Linked DNA regions of Homo sapiens: region 1 is linked to region 2. The links are contacts of gene promoters, found by promoter capture Hi-C in blood cells and fetal thymus (Javierre and others, 2016). All regions are on one chromosome and are shown on one strand. Each heading gives the region's core, a stretch centred on a gene start or on the middle of the fragment in contact. The rest is flanking DNA. Distances are from core to core; before and after follow the strand shown. Region 1 overlaps LOC105371777 (a long non-coding RNA gene). Region 2 holds the start of KRTAP4-4 (keratin associated protein 4-4).

What was found. The method cuts DNA at HindIII sites, captures the fragments that hold promoters and counts their contacts. A CHiCAGO score of 5 or more calls a contact.
Region 1: a contact is called between a fragment that was not itself captured here and the fragment with the promoter of KRTAP4-4 in region 2, in 1 of 17 cell types (neutrophils). The highest score is 5.7, in neutrophils.

What each region holds. Positions count from the first base shown.
Region 1 is chr17:40,903,054-40,905,848 of GRCh38, forward strand. All of the region lies in intron 1 of LOC105371777 (a long non-coding RNA gene), which reads left to right. Among named protein-coding and RNA genes, the nearest start is that of KRT20, 19 kb to the left of the region's middle. The HindIII fragment of the contact is 4,098 bases long and covers 1-2,795 here.
Region 2 is chr17:41,159,464-41,162,192 of GRCh38, forward strand. KRTAP4-4 (keratin associated protein 4-4) reads right to left here and starts at 1,285. Exons shown (of 1, transcript NM_032524.2): 1 at 186-1,285. The coding sequence starts at 1,228. The coding sequence ends at 728. The HindIII fragment of the contact is 13,067 bases long and covers 1-2,729 here.

The sequences.
Region 1 (2,795 bases), core at 199-2,698, 260 kb before region 2:
ATTTTAGTTTAGAATGCTTGATCTTGTCAAGCGGAGCCCCACATTGAATCACATGTTTCATAAGGCAGTAATTCTAACTTTGAAAGAAGTCACGATGCTCTGACTAATTTGAAATTTATTTTTATTTCTGAGGGAGATTTGGACATGGAAAGGGATGGCAAGAAGTGAAATGGTTGAAAAAATAAAGAGTATGACATGATCTGGCAATTATTAACCTGGGGAAGTGAAGAGTGAAAGAAGAAGCAATCGAGCCACATGTTATCTCTGTAAATGGTGAAGTGACTCACCCTAGGGCTCACCAGGAACAGGAAGATGTCGTTTCTTTCTTGCCTCCAAGTGGCAAGCAGGGACTGTGTGTCCTTCATTCATAGCTGCTTGAGAATCAATTACAATAGGTGGGATGCTGTGATAGCCAATAGGGTTCAGAAATCAAGACACAGTCCATGATTCCGAGGAGGCGGCAGCCTAGCCGGAGACGGTGACTAATCGGGAATTATATATAATGTTCACGAAAAGATTTGTGGATATAGAGGAAGGATCCCCAAGTAAAGCTGGGTGGGAGGGAGTCATTGAAGTTTTCCTGAAAGTGCAGAGTTTGAGGGAGAGTCCAAGCTGGAAAAGCACAGGGACATGGAGGTGGCCCACGCATCCCTAAAGTGCAGCGATGAGTAACTGGTGGATAAGTCACAGCCCATAAATCTCAGAATTCATCCATTCACTCCACAAATATTTACTCAGTACCTGCTGAGGGCCTGGCACTGTTCTAGGCCATGAGGATACTTCCGTGAGCAAGACAAACACAAATTCCTGCTGACAAGGCTTCATTCTAGCAAAGGGATATAAACCCCATACAGATAATATATATGTAAATTATAAGACAATGTGATGTAATCACACTGGAAAGGTAGAGAAATGGCAACCGGAGGTGTGAGATGGTGTAAGAATCCTGTGATGCCATCTTCTACAATGGGGATTTAGGTCTTTAATGTCTTCTTTTTTTTTTTTTTTTTTTTTTTGAGACGGAGTCTCGCTCTGTCGCCCAGGCTGGAGTGCGGTGGCGTGATCTCGGCTCACTGCAAGCTCCACCTCCTGGGTTCACGCCATTCTCCTGCCTCAGCCTCCCGAGTAGCTGGGACTACAGGTGCCCATCACCTCGCCCGGCTAATTTTTTTTTGTATATTTAGTAGAGACGGGGCTTCACCGTGTTAGCCAGGATGGTCTCCAACTCCTGACCTCGTGATCCGCCCACCTCGGCCTCCCAAAGTGCTGGGATTACAGGCGTGAGCCACCGTGCCCGGTCTTTAACGTCTTAAGTTGATAAAACAAGAAATAGCAGTGTAAGCATATTCCTTAGAGATATGCAGGTTAATACCAGAAACAATAGCTAAAAGATTTCAGAGAGAAACATTCAGGAGTGGGGACACCAGGGGCTGCTATTTTTTACTATGAACCTTGTATAGTATATGATGTATTCATTCATTCACTCACGCATTCATTCATGAATTCACAAGTCTGTGTGAATATCAGTGTGTGCAAGGTTTTGTTGCAGATGCTGGGGATACAGTAGTTAAAAAAACACAAACGTTTCTGCCCTGGCGGAACTTAGATTCAGGGGTGGGAGCTAGAGGTGAAGGGAGTAGGTCAGAGGAGAAAAAGGAAGGGTGGGGAGGGCTGGGAAAGTTGCCCTTGTGTGTAGAGAGATGAGAATGGGCCTCCCTGTGAGAGTGGTATTTGAATGACAGCAGGAAGAAAAGAGCCATATGGCAGCTCAGGTGCAAAGGTCTATAGCAGTTTAGGTGTGAGTGTGGGTGGAGCAGTGGGGATGTGGGGGTGCTCAGGGATGGAAGGGAGGGTGGTGGAAAGGACCTCAGCAATTCGGAGGTGAATGGTGAGGGATGTGGATGCCATCATCCAGCAAGGAACCTGCCTTTTACTCTGTGATATGAGAAGCCACCGAACTTTGGCGATGGAGTAATTCCTTATATCTTTAAAAAGAGGCACAAAGACCACACCTCATAAATACTGACATCATATTAACAGAATAGATAATACACCACTTTTTCAAATGTATCTTTTTTTCTTTTAATCGCTGAGAGGGAAAAGTAGTATCAGTGGCAGCACACACACACACACACACACACACACACGGAAGAAATGGAAATAAAAGCTAAAGAACAAACTAGTAATGATTCGGAGTGAGACCCCTAACACCTCCCGAATGGGGGCAAGAAGCTCAGGACTCTGGTAGCCCAGGCAGAGTCTGAGTAACTGGCGTTGCCTCTCTTCATGCATCTACCTGATCCACCTGTCCTTCTACCCACCCCTCTGATCCCTAGGAATTCTGAGAGCCTGGTATCACCCAGGTACAAGATGAAGAAGTCTATTGTCCCCTAGAGGGTAAATGGCAAGAGGTGCAGTTTAGGAGGATTCTCAGTCTGGGAGGAGAAGCTAGCTGAGAGCTTGCCACAGATGTAAGCAGGAACGCCCGGCTGAAGTGGGAACGAGGCAGAGGCTGGAAGACACAGCAGAGTGCTGTGCAACAGATGCCGCCTGGCAGACATGGTGCTCTCATCACAAGAGACTGTTATTTGGTACTGAAGTAGCCTTCACATTCCATAGAAAAATGTCTTTCTATTTTTTATATTATACTTTAAGTTCTGGGGTACAGGTGCAGAACATCCAGGTTTGTTACATAGGTATTGATGCGCCATGGTGGTTTGCTGCACGCATCAGCCTGTCATCTACATTAGATATTTGTCCTAATGCTCTCCTCCCACAGCCCTCCACGCCCCGAC
Region 2 (2,729 bases), core at 35-2,534:
GAAACTCTTCAAGAAGAGAGTTCCAGGTGCTTGCTCTAAGAAACCACCATTGTATATTAGAATAAAGTGTGCTGAGGAAATAGAGGTGGTGCCCCTGAAATTACATTCTGCAGAGAAGAACAACAGAAAAATTGACTGGTAATTGACCACACTCAAAAAAGAAAAATAATGAGACACAGTATCTGTATATTTCTATGCCTGAAAATTTATTTAAGATTTATTTAGATAAATATTTGTTTAAAATGGAATAGCTCCATATGAGAAATTATGGCAGAGAGCAAATATTTCAATTAAGATAGTTGACAGATTTCAGAGCAAATTACAACTTATGTTCATTTGGTAGAGAGGTAAAATGTGGGGGGAGCATATATTTGGAGGCCAGATTCAATCTAAGAATTGGTTGGAACTGAAGTTTTCCAACTAGCTTCCCATAACTCAGCTCATAGATGAGCTACATCAAGAATGCTGGTTGATGAGAATCTGGTGAGTCCAGATGACAGCCTCAGCAGCAAGAAGCACTAGAGCAGGTTGGGCGGCAGCACATGGTCTGGCAGCAGTTGGGGCGGCAGCAACTGGAGATGCAGCAGGAGAGCCTGCAGCAGCTGAAGCCACAGCAGGAGGAGCTACTGCTGCTAGAGATACTGCAGGAAGGCTGGCAGCAGCTGGAAATGCAATAGCTGGGGTGGCAGCAGGTGGTCCTGTAGCAGGTGGTTTGCCAGCAGATGGGCTAGCAGCATAGAGACTGGCCACAATGGGGCCTGTAGCACCTGGACACACAGCAGCTGGGGCGGCAGCAGGTGGTTCTGCAGCAGGTGGTCTGGCAGCACTGGGGTCTGCAGCAGCTGGACACACAGTAGCTGGGGCAGCAGCAGGTGGGCTGGCAGCACACAGACTGGCAGCACTGGGGCCTGCAGCAGCTGGGGCGGCAGCAGGTGGTCCTACAGCAGGTAGTCTGGCAGCATTGGGGTCTGCAGCAGGTGGGCTGGCAGCACACAGACTGGCAGCACTGGGGTCTGCAGCAGCTGGACACACAGCAGCTGGGGTGGCAGCAGGTGGTCCTGCAGCAGGTGGTCTGGCAGCACTGGGGTCTGCAGCAGCTGGACACACAGCAGCTGGGGCGGCAGCAGGTGGTCCTGCAGCAGGTGGTCTGGCAGTAGCTGGGACGGCAGCAGTTCTCTAGGCCACAGCCCTGGTCAGAGCACACAGAGCCACAACAGGAGTTGACCATGGTGTCAGAGGGTGGAGGTTCTGGGTGGGTTTCCAGGAAGGAGGGTTTGGAAGGCTTGGAAGTCTCCTTGCCCCAGATCCTCTTTTATACCCTGCTCAGGGCTGATGTCATCGGATGCAGCACTCTTTCCTTGTCATTGTTTGTTCTGATGAGCAGGCAATTATCAAATTAGGCAAGTTTGTTTTTCTGCTTAAATTTGTCAACATGGAGAAAAGCATTATTTCCTTCCCCTGGTGTGTTAGGATTCTTCAGGTCAGCTCTTCTTGAACAACCTCTTGTGTGCCTCTTGCTGCAGCTTCCTCCTTGAGCTGCCATGTGACATCTGCCTGCAGGTACCATGTGCTGCAGCCTCATTTTCCTTAATACATTATGTCTGACCTTGGGTGATTTTAATTCTTCTAGGCCCGTAATTTTCTTTTGGTGACTCAGGAGGAGAAAGCTGTGCTTTAATCTCATGGCATGTTTGTTATAGATCAAGTGAGCAATGAAGGTTTGAATGTGAAACAGGTGACCAGTGGCATGAAAACAAATACTATTAGGATATATTCCTTGCCACCTTCCATACAATGAATCATGACCCATTTTCTAGATGTTCTACTGGGGAAAGCAGAATTGTTTTAAGGTGGACATCTAAGTCATGAATTATCGATGCTTCTTTTTCTTGAGAAACAACACTCCAAAACTCAGTTTCAGGGCCTTTAGGGGAAATTGGCTACAGAGATCAGCTATACTAAAAGGTTCAGGTCCCTCCGCTCTCTGCTCTGAGGGGCTGATTTTCCTTCTGACTTTTCCTTCCTGTCTCTCTGGCTTTAACAATCACATTGAGTCATCTCCTCTATTTCTAAGGTTTACTTGCCAACCTAAGGTAAAGGACCCAGTGTCCTTGCTATATATATATAATATATATATATATATATAATATATATTATATATATACATATATATACTATATATAGTATACACACACACGTATATACACACTATATATAAATATACACACTATATATAAATATGCACACTATATATAAATATACACACATACACACACATATATGTGTGTGTATGTATGTGTGTGTATGTGTGCGTGTGTGTGTGTATATATATATATATATATATATATACACACACACACGCACACATACACACACATTATGTCTGACCTTGGGTGATTTTAATTCTTCTAGGCCCATAATTTTCTTTTGATGTATATGTATATATATATATACACTCACACACACACAGGTTTGGGGGAATATATATATTCTGCCAAAGGACCTTAGGAATATATATATATATTATACATATATAGATGGGTAGATAGAGAACCTTATATATAGGTAATATAGGAATATATATATTTACATATTTATGAATATATAATATATATTCTTCATATATGTTTGTATTTAATAGTATGTATAAATATATATATAATATATACAATAACATATTTAGAAATATATATATTTATATATATATGTATTTACCTTTATCTCCTAAG